Linked DNA regions of Homo sapiens: region 2 is linked to region 1. The links are contacts of gene promoters, found by promoter capture Hi-C in blood cells and fetal thymus (Javierre and others, 2016). All regions are on one chromosome and are shown on one strand. Each heading gives the region's core, a stretch centred on a gene start or on the middle of the fragment in contact. The rest is flanking DNA. Distances are from core to core; before and after follow the strand shown.

What was found. The method cuts DNA at HindIII sites, captures the fragments that hold promoters and counts their contacts. A CHiCAGO score of 5 or more calls a contact.
Region 2: a contact is called between the fragment with the promoter of MCM7 here and a fragment that was not itself captured in region 1, in 1 of 17 cell types (total B cells). The highest score is 6.4, in total B cells.

The regions. Positions count from the first base shown.
Region 1 is chr7:100,366,864-100,373,428 of GRCh38, forward strand. PILRB (paired immunoglobin like type 2 receptor beta) reads left to right here. Exons shown (of 4, transcript NM_178238.4): 4 at 486-968. The coding sequence ends at 514. STAG3L5P-PVRIG2P-PILRB (STAG3L5P-PVRIG2P-PILRB readthrough) reads left to right here. Exons shown (of 17, transcript NR_036570.1): 17 at 486-968. It also overlaps a transcript of PILRA not described here. Among named protein-coding and RNA genes, the nearest start is that of PILRA, 3.3 kb to the right of the region's middle. RefSeq lists an enhancer at 3,541-4,292. The HindIII fragment of the contact is 2,485 bases long and covers 1,939-4,423 here.
Region 2 is chr7:100,099,379-100,105,943 of GRCh38, forward strand. MCM7 (minichromosome maintenance complex component 7) reads right to left here and starts at 2,019. Exons shown (of 15, transcript NM_005916.5): 1 at 1,886-2,019; 2 at 636-715; 3 at 211-375; 4 at 1-25. The coding sequence starts at 1,916. AP4M1 (adaptor related protein complex 4 subunit mu 1) reads left to right here and starts at 2,265. Exons shown (of 15, transcript NM_004722.4): 1 at 2,265-2,394; 2 at 2,502-2,590; 3 at 3,297-3,403; 4 at 3,486-3,582; 5 at 4,031-4,141; 6 at 4,234-4,314; 7 at 4,714-4,776; 8 at 5,496-5,562; 9 at 5,667-5,720; 10 at 5,862-5,968; 11 at 6,067-6,161. The coding sequence starts at 2,337. RefSeq lists enhancers at 1,214-1,373, 1,719-2,271, 2,294-2,343 and a silencer at 1,484-1,583. The HindIII fragment of the contact is 6,263 bases long and covers 163-6,425 here.

The DNA.
Region 1 (6,565 bases), core at 1,931-4,430:
TGCGGGGGCGGTTTCAGGAGATGACGTGGTGGACAACAGGGAGAACAGGTCGGGGGGGAGCCTCAGGGTGCCAGCTGAGTCCCAGGCCCTTCCTGATGGGTTTGGGCAGAGCTGATCTGCTGCTCTGGTCCCTCTAAGGAGGGCCTCAGCCTAGGGCGCAGCAGAGAAGGTGGGATGGAGACTGCTATCACCTGGATGCCACCCTGACTCACTGTTGGTCCCCCTACACGTCAGCAGCGGACTAAAGCCACAACCCCAGCCAGCTGAGTGCTGGGCCTCCCCAAGGGAGTGGGGAGTACAGGTGCGGGCAGGGGACGGGTTTGGAAATCAGGGACTGTGCTGCTAAGAACCCCACAAGCCCAGCCTGCCACAAATTCTCCTGAGTTTTTGCCACCTCCCACTTAAATCTGATCTCTGAAGCAACTGCCTCGCCTGCCTCACTAATAATCCTGGCCCTGCATCTAAAAACACTTCCCCTCCTGCAGGTAGCAGGGCGCCAAGCAGTGACTTCTGACCAACAGAGTGTGGGGAGAAGGGATGTGTATTAGCCCCGGAGGACGTGATGTGAGACCCGCTTGTGAGTCCTCCACACTCGTTCCCCATTGGCAAGATACATGGAGAGCACCCTGAGGACCTTTAAAAGGCAAAGCCGCAAGGCAGAAGGAGGCTGGGTCCCTGAATCACCGACTGGAGGAGAGTTACCTACAAGAGCCTTCATCCAGGAGCATCCACACTGCAATGATATAGGAATGAGGTCTGAACTCCACTGAATTAAACCACTGGCATTTGGGGGCTGTTTATTATAGCAGTGCAAAGAGTTCCTTTATCCTCCCCAAGGATGGAAAAATACAATTTATTTTGCTTACCATACACCCCTTTTCTCCTCGTCCACATTTTCCAATCTGTATGGTGGCTGTCTTCTATGGCAGAAGGTTTTGGGGAATAAATAGCGTGAAATGCTGCTGACACTTCCCTGTGCATCTCCCACATGGCTGCCAAGTGCCCCTTCCTGCTCTGCAGTACCTGAGTCCAGTCATGATGCAGGGAGCCTCCCCACTAGAAACAGATGGCACTCACAGATTTAAAGCAGTTGGAAGCAAGTTTAAGAAGGGAAATCTTTTTTTTTTTTTTTTTTTTTTTTTGAGACAGAGCCTCACTCTCATCACCCAGGCTGGAGTGCAGTGGCGCAATCTCTGCTCACTGCAACCTCTGCCTCCTGGGTTCAAGCCATTCTCATGCCTCAGCCTCCCAAGTAGTTGGGATTACAGGCGTGCACCCCCACACTCAGCTAATGTTTGTATTTTTTAGTGGTACTGGAGTTTCACCAAGTTGTCCAGGCTGGTCTCAAACTCCTGGGCTCAAGCAATCCTCCAGCCTCAGTCTCCCAAATAGCTGCAATTACAGGCGTGAGCCACCATGCCTGGCTGAGAGGGAATCGTTAAGAAGGAGTGGGCAGGGGCAAGAACACTGTCAGAGACAGTGTGTTGGCCACGGCTACTACAGCAAATTGGCTGCTTCCTGTGATCGCACGGGTTGAGGGCTCAGTTCCACAAGGCTGCCCCAGCATCAGATGCCAGTCGCAAGCTCACGTGGTGCCTGTGCTTCTGACACAGGGCTATAAAAATTGAGGTTCCCATGATCCCCTCCTTGGGTTCAATTAATTTTCTAGAATGGTACCTAGAACTCAGGGAAGCCCTTTACTTACATGTGTCCCCTTATAAAGGATATTATAGGGCCTGGCGCCATGGCTCATGCCTGTAATCTCTGTGCTTCAGGAGGTTGAGGGGGGAGGTTCACTTGAGCACAGGAGTTTGAGACCAACCTGGGCAACATAGCGAGACCCCGTCTCAAAATAAAGATATAGGATATTACAAAGGATAGTTATGAACAGCCAGATATAAGAGATACACAGAGGGAGGCCTGGGGGAAGGGGTGCAAAGCTTCCGTGTCTTCTCTAGGCACTGCACCCTCTAGGAAGCTCCATGAGTTCAGTTATCCAGAAGCCCTCTGCATCCCTTTTGGGTTTTTATGGGCTTCATTATAAAGGCATGATTGGGCCAGGCACAGTGGCTCATGACTGTAATCCCAGCACATTTTGAGGCTGAGGTGGGAGAATCAATTGAGCCCTCAGGTGGCAACTGAGGCTGCAGTGAGTTGTGATTGCACCACTGTACTCCAGCCTGGGTGACAGAGAGAGAGCCTGTCTCAAAAAAAAAAGACAAAACAAAAAACCTGGCCAATACGGTGAAACCCCATCTCTACTGAAAATGATCGTCACCTGATCCCCACCCCTTGAAGATGCCTCCACCCTCTCCATACGCATTTGGTCAGCACTAACTGCCCTGGGTGACAGGCACACTGCACTGGGTGACAAGGACCCAAAGCTACACCAGCCAGTGCCCCAGCCCTCAAGCACCTCCCTGTGCAGAAGGAAGACAACACAGAAAAGGGAAGCATGGTTGTCACAGAGGCCCAGAGGACTGCTGGCTGATGTCACTGAATGGGGAAGTGGTTGGCCGCACAGGCCCCAAGCTCAGACCTGATGCCACAGTGGACGTTCCTGGGCCATGTGACCTCAGGCTAGGCTCAGAACCACCCTCAGGGCCTCCGTTTCTTTCTGTATAAATTGAGGACCATACAGAGATGCTGCCTACCTCCTGGGATTGTCCAGAGAGTTAAAAGCTCTTTTAAAATGCGCCTGCTGGGCCAGGCACAGTGTCTCACACCTGTAATCCCAGCACTTTGGGAGGCTGAGGCAGGCAGATCACAAGGTCAGGAGGTCGAGACCAGCCTGAACAACATAGCAAAGCTCCATCTCTACTAAAAATACAAAAAGTAGCCGGGCGGGCATGGTGGCACGTGCCTGTAATCCCAGCTACTCAGGAGGCTGAGGCAGGAGAATCACTTGAACTCAGGAAGTGGAAGTTGCAGTGAGCCGAGATTGTACCATTGCACTCCAGCCTGGGTGACAGAGCGAGACTCCGTCTCAAAAAATAAAAATAAATCAAATGCACCTGCTGGCAGGGCGCGGTGGTTCATGCCTGTAATCTCAGCAACTTTGGGAGGCCTAGGCAGGTGGATCACCTGAGGTAAGGAGTTCAAGACCAGCCTGGCCAACATGGTGAAACCCCATCTCTGCTAAAACTACAAAAATTAGGTGAGCATAGTGGTGGGCACCTGTAGTCCCAGTTACTCGGGAGGCTGAGGCAGGAGAATCGCTTGAACCTGGGAGGCAGAGGTTGCAGTGAGCCGAGATGGTGCCACTGCACTGCAGCCTGGGCGACAGAGTGAGACTCCGTCTCAAAATAATAATAATAATAAAACAAAATGCACCTGCCATTTCTTTCCATCAGGTATGGCCATGGAAATGAGGGTCATAAGGGAAGCAGTGTATCCTCACAGATCCCCAGAAACGAGAGACACAGCCATGCAGGGCCACTTGGGAAAGCACCAGGGTCCCTCAGGGAGTAGAGGAAGCCAAGGGAACACAGGGGTGAGACCCTTTGTTATGCTTTCCCTGGAAAAGGCAAGGAAGGGTATGCAGGTTTAGGATTGGCTAGTTAGAATAACGTTAGCAGGCTCTGGGGATTAGAGGCTGTCATTTGTTATTTGGTGTCTGGCCCAGGATGATGAAGGCAGAGAAATACTGCCTTCTGAAGGGTGAGAGGCAGCTAGAAGAGCTGGTTCAGTGTTGGGGCCCTGGATTAGCTGGTTTGCATATGAAAGGCACACTCAGCCAGGAGCCGTGGCTCAAGCCTGTAATCCCAGCACTTTGGGAGGCCGAGGTGGGCAGATCACAAGGTCAGGAGATGGAGACCATCTTGGCCAACGTGGTGAAACCCCGTCTCTATTAAAAATACAAAAATTAGTTGGGCATGGTGGCACGCACTTGTAATCCCAGCAACTTGGGAGGCTGAGGCAGGAGAATCGCTTGAACCCAGGGGTGGAGGTTGCAGTGAGCCGAGACCGTGCCACTGCACTCCAGCCTGGCAGCAGAGTGAGACTGTTTCAGAAAAAAAAAGGGACACTCTCAGAGGGGTCATTTGCTAGCTCTAACAACTGGCTGGCTCTGGCAGGGGCAGTCCCTCTCTCTGCTCTTGGAGGTCCAAGATGCCAGAATATCAGCAATCCAGTGGGGCTTGGTGAGGTGGCTCACACCTGTCATCCCAGCACTGAGGGAGGCCGAGGCAGGAGGATTGCTTAAGCCCAGGAACTTGAGACCAGCCTAGACAACATAGTGAGACCCCATCTCTCAAAAAAAAAAAAAAATTAGCCGTGTGTGGTGGTGTGTGCCTGTGGTCTTCACTACTTGGGAGGCTGAGGTCAGCAAATTGCTTCAGCCCAGGAGTGATGGTGATCGCGTCCCTACACTCCAGTCTGTGGACACTCTAGTACCTTGAGGACAGTACAGCCTGATTACAGAAGCTTTACAGCAAGTCTTGAAGTCAGGTATTATAAATCTTCCACCTTCATTCTTCATTTGTAAAGGCCTTTTGGCTATTCTAGGTCCTTTGAATTACTGTGAGAATATTACAGTTGGCTTGTGAACTCCACAAAGCCTATGGGATGTCGATTGGGATCAGAGGAAAGCAGGAACGGTGGGTGCCAAGGAGAGGTGAGGGGCTGGGGGCAGGGACGGATGTGGCCAGTGAGGACAGTAGGATACTTGTTGGGGGAATGTGGGGACATCCAAGCAGTGGTTCTCATAATGCGGTGCAGGGTACTTACCCCCTCCCTGCCCCTGCTCCCCACACACGACTTCCCACGCCTCTCCCATGAGCACCTGCACTAAGGGGCTGCATTTAGGCTCTGCCCACATTGGAATCATGCCCTCCTCCAGGCCCTCCTCCTCCTCTCAGAAGCCCTGTCTGTGAGAGAGCCACAGCCCCAGGCTCAGTCCCAGGTTCTGTCACTGCTGTTGGGGGAGGGAGGATGAACAAATCCAGGAGACCTCACACCATCCCAGAGCAGAAATCCTGACACAGAAGGAATCTCCCATGGGGGTTCAGCTGGATCCAGGGCCTGAAAGTGACATAAACATGCATGTTGCATCTAAGGAGACTGCACGTGGCAGCATTGGGCAGCATGTGCCCTCCAGAGCTACCCAGAGGCTGTTGGCTATAAGTTCTATGTGGCCCCCACATTGGACAGCCTGGTAAGCAGGTGACCTTTCAGCCAGGTCCTCAGGTGGGGCGGGCCACCCTCTCGAGGCCCTGCCCAGACAGCCAGGGGGTCCCTTGTCCTCTCTGCAGCCCATCTTTCCAGCTGTGACCAGTTCAGCCCAAAGCCCCCGTCCCTCAGTTTCCCTGTGGGTTGAATGGAGATAATGTGTCACCTCAGAATGTTGTGAAGCAGAGAATGAGGTGTTTAGGGCCTGGCTCAGACGGAGGGGTTTCCTGAGCATGGGGAACCTGTTTCCTCAGGCCTGTAAAGGGAGGGAGGGCGGGCCGGCCTGGCTGGCCCTGGGAAGCACAGAGGAGCCTACTAGGACCAGGGAAGAGACTAAGAGAAGGGAGGCCCGTCCCTGCCTGCTTCTGTCTCAAGAAGGCTGATGTCACTTCCTCTGATGAAATCCTGTCTTCCCCCACGGCCCCTCAACTGATGCCACCTCACCCTGGAGAGGGTGGGCAGAGCCTCCTACGGAGGGAGCCCTGTGCACCACCAAAGCTCCCTGCTCCAGTGACCACCCCCGGGCAAAGGCCGGCAGATCCCCGTTAGAGATGGGCCCAGGACTGTGTGTGGGGTGGGTGTTGCTCTGAGCCTTCACTTTCTTCTGTGTCCAAGGAAGCTTCTGGATCAGCCAAGGGCTCAGGTGTGTGGAGGGAATGACCTGAGGGGCTGTATGAAGGGACAGCCTCCTGTCCTGCACTCAGAAGTTGAGGCCCAGAGATTCCACCCTTCAGCCAGGCCCAGACATCTGGGTTGAGGGGGCTCCAGTCCTGTACCCACTACTGCAAGTCACGTGGCCTGGGGCAGGGCTTCTCAGAGCCCTGTCCCCTCCTGTGTAGGGCGGGACGTCAGAGGGGAGCCTGCAGACCCAGTCTCATGTCTTGGGGGTCAAGGGGTGGCTTCCAGAAGGACCAGTCTCTGTGTAGGGGACCATTAGCCCCCTCACCCCTTGAGCAAGGTCGTGGTGCCTGCACCGAGAGAGGGCCTGGGGCAGGAAGAGGCCAGCTGGGTCGTGGTGGTGCCTGGGGACTGCATGGGAGCCCCTGCCAGGGAGGGAGAGGGACAGAGGACAAGCTGGGGGCTCTTCTGCTTGGGCTGGGGGCTGAGCACCTGTGACCTCCACCGGCTTCCTTCTCCTCCTCTCTGAGGACTGAATCTGGGGCGCAGAAGGACAGAGATTCAGGCCTGCCTTTCCTCTCCCTGAAAGAGCCTGCGCTGGCCCTGGGCAGAGAGAAGGATGAGAAGTGAGGCTGAGTGAGGTGGGGTCTGCAGGGATCCAGGTGGGAGGGGCCCAGCCAGCCAAGGTCAGGCCCAGCCCCCCAAGGTCAGGCCCAGCCCCTCGGCAGGAGGACGGGGACCGCGGCCTTTGGGCAGGGCTGACTTGGCACTGACCACA
Region 2 (6,565 bases), core at 769-3,268, 270 kb before region 1:
CGTCCAGGACATCTTTATTTACCACCTAAAGGAGAAGAACAAAAAAAAAAAAAAAAAAGAGCAACAGGATGGGGAAAGGAGAGCACAGAGAACACCAGGCAGAAGTGCCCCTCCTTTCTGCCTGCTCAGAAAACATCAGTATCTGAGCAGCCTCTCTACAGAAGCTTAAACGCCTCGCCCTTTGTTTGCCATTGTTCTCTAACCACTCACTTCCCTCTCCTTGTACTGAGGCAGCAGCTCTTGTACGGCATCAGCAAAGAGCTTCGCGTAGCGCCTGGCATTCTCACAAATTGAGTCCACCAACTCGGGGTCATCCTCGGCTACGTCGTCCAGGTCCACATACAGAGCCACCTGTTCCCGATGAGCCAGCCGAACCTCAAGTGGGGAAGAGACAGAAACACCTCAGAGCCACATTCACTTTGCTCACCAGTGTTCATATGTGAAAATGCATCACTGAGAACTCAGCACAGGCTCTGGGCATCCACAGGGGAGAACGCAGCGCCACACAGAGCGATACTCGCTTTTCAGCCCTCAAACCCTCTAATTGTTATGTCTTTAATAAAACAAGCCAAGCTGCTGCTTATGGCTCCTTAAGCACCCCGCTCCCCATTCCCTTTACCCAATCTTAGACTTACCAACTGGTTCCCATACTTGAACTGCTTCTTCCCGAGTTCATCATCCTGGTAGAACTCTTGTAAGAACTTCTTAACCTTTTCTGTAACATGAAATGTAAAACCGTAAGACACAAACTTTAAGACAAATCTTAGATACCCATTTTCGCTTAAAACACGACCTATGAACTAATTAATAATATGAGCATTTAAATAAACCTACCGAAGTCTCCCCAAAGTGGGCATAACTCTTTTTCACAAGTCTGTTTCTAACCAGCGAAGAATAAAGAGCCCGTGGCAGTGCACAGGGCCATCCAACATCTCCCCAGGGGAATTCCGGTCCCTACTTTAGTTTAAAATTCTAGCGCCCTTCCCCGTTGGCCCCTCACACTCCGGTCTCAAGGTTCTCAGCTTTCTTTCCACCCCTATGATCCCCCGCCTTCTTTGGGTCCCCTTAGCCCCTGATTTCACCGGGACCTCCGCCACCGCACCCCGCCACCGCACCCCACCCCCGCTCCCGCCATCGCTTCCGCTCTTAGTAAACAAAGAAGCACATGGGCCCGGATTCCAGCCGCTTCACAGCTCGGGATTCCTCCGCCCAGGGCGGGAGCCAGTCCAGCCATTGGCCATCACACCCAGAGACACCGCGATCCCAGCCCACTGCCGCCTTTCCCGGGCCCGAGCGAAGCTCCGGATCCCAGGCACGCCCCCCCGGGCCGCAGCTCTCTCCGCGGCCGCCGCGCGGAAGGACACTGTTTACACGACACTCCCTCCAGCCTCCTCGCGCCACTTCCGCCCGGCTCCACTTCCGCTCGGAGGGCGGCCTCAAACGGCCAATCCCGGCGCGCAGCGGCCCCGGCCTGCCCGCCCCCGGGGCCTACGCGCGCCTGGGGAGGGCGCGGGAACCTGGGAATGCCCAAAAGCGCGAAGGAAAGCGGGCACGGGAGCCCAGAGCCCTTAAGACTCTCCTGAGGTCCTGGGCGCGACTTTTCCCTGTGCAGCCCCCAGCCGGGTTAGCGCGCCCCCAAGCCCCCAACCCCACGACCCTAACACCTTTACCAGGTGGGATTACTAGCTTTTCTTCAACATCGATGGCCCCCCGCACGCTTCCCAGGCCCCGTGGGCCTTAGCCAGGCCGCAGCTCGACCCTGCCTCTGGCCTCGCGCACCCCAGAACCCGCCGACCCCGGTCCCCCAAGACCCCAGCTCACACCAACAGGTGTTCCCCGGGAGGCTCCCCGCGCAGGACGCCCTCCCGGGCTCGTAGACCCGTACCCTTCTCTAGCGCGTAGTCCTTCAGTGCCATCGCTGCCGAGGGCCGTGCGGCCGCGCTTGGCGGGCTCAGAGGTCTTGCTCCTGGGGAAGCTGAGAATCTCCGCGCGGTGGACTGTGGCCGGCCAACCGAAATTGGCGCGAAACGTCGCCCCCCACGTGACCGGCGCCACTGCGTGCGGGCCAATCGGACAAGGCGGCCTTCTTCACCTCCCGCTAGCCGCAAGCCAATCACCGTGCGGGCCTAGAATGAGTGACGGGGAGGCGGTGCGGGCGTCGGAAGGGAATCTCCGGGCGGGGTAGTGCAGGCGCCGGGTTTCCCGCGGTCCGAGCTGGCGCGGGCGGAGGAGAATCGCTCTTAAAGGGCCAGCGCACACGCGTTCTTTTGTTCCGGGGCCGCAGGGCGGGGCAGGCCCGACTTTCGCCGTCTTCTTGTCTACTCTCCAGAACGGCCATGATTTCCCAATTCTTCATTCTGTCCTCCAAGGGGGACCCGCTCATCTACAAAGACTGTATCCTAGACCCTTGGGGCTGGGAAGGGGCGGAGGGGCCGGGCGGGAGGGGCGCCCAGGGCCAGCCTGTGTCGCAGGATCCTTCACTGAGTCCTTCCACCCGCCAGTCCGCGGGGACAGTGGCGGCCGGGATGTGGCCGAGCTCTTCTACCGGAAGCTGACGGGACTGCCAGGAGACGAGTCCCCGGTTGTCATGGTAACCAGTGGCGGGAGGCGGGTGAGGAGCGGGGTCCCGTCGGGCCGGGTGGGCGCCAGCTCCCTCCCAGGACTGGTTCATTGGTAGATTCCACTTGGGGGGTGCATTCCGCCAAATAAAGCTAACGTGAGGCCCGGCGCGGTGGCTCACGCCTGTAATCCCAGCACTTTGGGAGACCGAGGCGGGCGGATCACCTGAGGTCAGGAGTTCGAAATCAGCCTGGCCAACATGGTGAAACTCCGCCTCTACTAAAAATACAAAAAAAAAAAAAACATAGCTGGGCGTGGTGGCGGGCGCCTGTAATCCCATCTACTCGGGAAGCTGAGGCTTGAGAATCGCTTGAATCCAAGAGGCAGAGGTTGCAGTGAGCCGAGATCCGGACACCGCACTCCAGCCTGGGAGACAGAGCGAGACTCCCTCTCGGGGTAGGTGGGGGTGGGGAAAAAAAAAAAAAGAGTCAATGGGCGCCAGCAACACACCAGGCCCAGCTCCCTGCGTGACTCCATCCTCAGCAACTCGGGGTAGTTAGTGTAATTAACCCCCTTTCCACATTGGGAAGCTGGGCCCAGGCATATGTCATGTATCTCCCAAAGGCACTGCTGTTGTGACTAGTAAGAGGCATCGGGATCCGAGCTCAGGTCTCCTGGGTTCTGATCACTCCACCTCCCTTTTTTTAACGCCTCTCTTCTCCCTGCCTGTGTCTCAGCATCACCATGGCCGTCATTTCATTCACATCAGACACAGCGGCCTCTATTTGGTGGTCACAACTTCAGAAAACGTTTCTCCCTTCAGCCTCCTAGAACTGCTCTCCAGGTGAGGAGGGTTGGGCTGGGCACCTGGTAGCTAGGAGGGGTCTGAGAGGAGGAGAAAATACACGCTCCAAGTGTTTCCTCAGGTTGGCCACCCTTCTGGGCGATTACTGTGGCTCCCTGGGCGAGGGGACCATCTCCCGCAATGTGGCTCTGGTATACGAACTCCTGGATGAAGTGCTGGTGAGAATCAACAATCCCCTTCTGTGGCCCCTACCCAATTCCCCTGAAGATACATCTGCTCTTCTACTGTGGGATGCCGTGGTTAGGAGGCCAAGTCTACCTTTTTTTTTTTTTTTTTTTTTGCTTTTAGAGACAGGGTCTTGCTCTGTTGCCCAGGCTGGACTGCAGTGGTGCAGTTATAGCTCACTGCAGCCTGGAACTCCTGGGCTCAAGCCGTCCTCCTGCCCCAGCCTCCCCTGTGCCTAGCTAATTGTTTATTTTTTGTAGAGACTAGAGTCTCACTGTGTTGCCCAGGCTGGTCTTGAACTCATGGCCTCAAGCCATTCTCCTACGTCTCGGCCTTCCAAAGCGCTGAGAGTACAGGAGTGAGTCACCATGCCTGGCCCCACTCCCCCTCTTTACCCCTTCCCTCCACTGATCACTCAGACTGTCCTTCCTTTACCACTAGGACTATGGCTATGTACAGACCACATCCACGGAGATGCTGAGGAATTTCATCCAGACGGAAGCTGTGGTCAGCAAGCCCTTCAGCCTCTTTGACCTCAGCAGCGTTGGCTTGGTCAGTAGAGGGAAAGAGGAGGGTGAGGAAAGAGAAGAGGGGTTGGCTGGGGTTGTCAGACCTGATGATTGATTGCTTTGGATGCTTTACAGTTTGGGGCTGAGACACAACAGAGCAAAGTGGCCCCCAGCAGTGCAGCCAGCCGCCCCGTCCTGTCCAGTCGCTCTGACCAGGTGAGGGAAGGATCCATGGGGTCAGACGCTCTGGTTTTGCTCTGGGATCCGGGAGTCCAAGATCTTAGGTCGGGCACAGCGGCTCACGCCTGTAGTCCCAGCACTTTGGGAGGCCGAGGTGGGCAGATCACCTGATGCCAGGAGTTTCAGAGCAGCCTGGCCAACATGGTGAAAACCTGTCTCTACTAAAAATGCAAAAAAAAAAAAAAAAAAAGAAAAAGATCTTGGCACATCTCCCACCCCCCCAGATGTGGGTGGAGGTGGGAGATGATCCCTTCCATCACCCATGTCCTCACCCTAGAGCTGTAGCTTTGACTGTCCTGTTCTTTCTCCCTGTCTGTCCATTTCAGAACATAGGCTATTCTGCTTCCAACCACCCAAATTCTCTCTCTTTCTCAGAGCCAAAAGAATGAAGTTTTTTTGGATGTGGTCGAGAGATTGTCTGTACTGATAGCATCTAATGTAAGTTTGAGCTCCCAAACCTGGAGCTGAGGACAGATGGGACTTGGGAAACATGGTGGGGTGGCTAAGACTCCCAGCAACGGCCGGGCACAGTGGCTCATGCTTGTAATCCCAGTGCTTTGGGAGGCCGAGGTGGGAGAATTACTTGGGGCCAGGAGTTTGAAACCAGCCTGGGCAACATAGCCAGACCCCGTCTCTACAAAAAATACAAATAAACAAATTACCCAGACATGGTAGTGTACACCTGCTGTCCCAGCTACTTGGGAGGCTGAGCCAGGAGGATCACTTGAGCCCAGGAGGTTAAGGCTGCAGTAAGCCAAGATCGAGTCACTGCACGCTAGCCCGGATGACAGAGCAAGACCCTGTCTCTTAAAAAAAATAAATAAGTAAAAAAGGCTGGGCACAGTGGCTCATGCCTGTAATCCCAGCACTTTGAGAGGCCGAGGTGGGTGGATCACTTAAGGTCAGGAGTTTGAGACCAGCCTGGCCAACACAGTGAAACTCCATCTCTACTAAAAATACAAAAATTAGCTACTTATGGTGGCAGGCATCTGTAACCCTAGCTACTTGTGAGGCTGAGGCAGGAGAATGTCTTGAACCTGGGAGGTGGAGGTTGCAGTGAGCCGAGATCACGCCACTGCCAGCCTGGGCGACAGAGCGAGACCGTCTCAAAAAAAGAAAGAAAAAAAGACTCTAACCTTGACGCCCCTGCCTCTCAGGGATCCCTGCTGAAGGTGGATGTGCAGGGAGAGATTCGGCTCAAGAGCTTCCTTCCTAGCGGCTCTGGTGAGGCATCTGCAGGCAGGACCAAGGGTTGGGGTTAGGGCGGGTTCCTTGGTGTCTTAAACCATGGCATTGCTGAGCTCTCCTGATGGTCTCTCCTCCGACAGAGATGCGCATTGGCTTGACGGAAGAGTTTTGTGTGGGGAAGTCAGAGCTGAGAGGTGAGGAGAAAGTGGGTCTTTCTCCCCTTGGAGTAGGTCATTGCCAGAGTTCATGGAGAGAAGTCAGACAGAGCCTCCCCTCTCCTTGCTCCTCTCCCAAAACAGGAGTCAGGAGAGAAGTCTCTCTCTCTCTCTTTCCAGGTTATGGGCCAGGAATCCGGGTCGATGAAGTCTCGTTTCACAGCTCTGTGAATCTGGACGAATTTGAGTCTCATCGAATCCTCCGCTTGCAACCACCTCAGGGCGAGGTCAGGGTTGGGGTGGCCTCATAAATTCCGTCCACCATGGGGAAGGGGGCAGTGGGGTCGTGAGACCAAACTAACCTTGTTGCTCTCTGGTCTCTCAGCTGACTGTGATGCGGTACCAACTCTCCGATGACCTCCCCTCACCGCTCCCCTTCCGGCTCTTCCCCTCTGTGCAGTGGGACCGAGGCTCAGGCCGGTGAGACAATTTCCTGGGTTCTAGAACTACCTTGGAACCCAAGCCAAGACCTGTATGTTCCCAAGACTCACTGCAGAGTGGGGGTGGTGGTAGTGGTGATGGAGTGCAAATTGGAAAAAGGCTTGGGTTGCGGCCGGTGGCTCACACCTGTAATCCTAGCACTTTGGGAGGCTGAGGCGGGAGGATCACTTGAGCCCAGGAGTTCCAGACCAGCCTGGGCAACATAGTGAGACCCCATCTCTCTGAAAAAAAAAAAAAGGAAAAAGCTTTGGCTAATGGAGTTGGGCTGGGCTTCAGCCCTTTTCCCTCTTGGGAGTACAGCCCACACCCACACAGCCCCACATGGAGGTCCCTGGTGGGGAATGGTGAGATGCCAGTAGAAGATGGCCTGAGTCGTGGTGTTT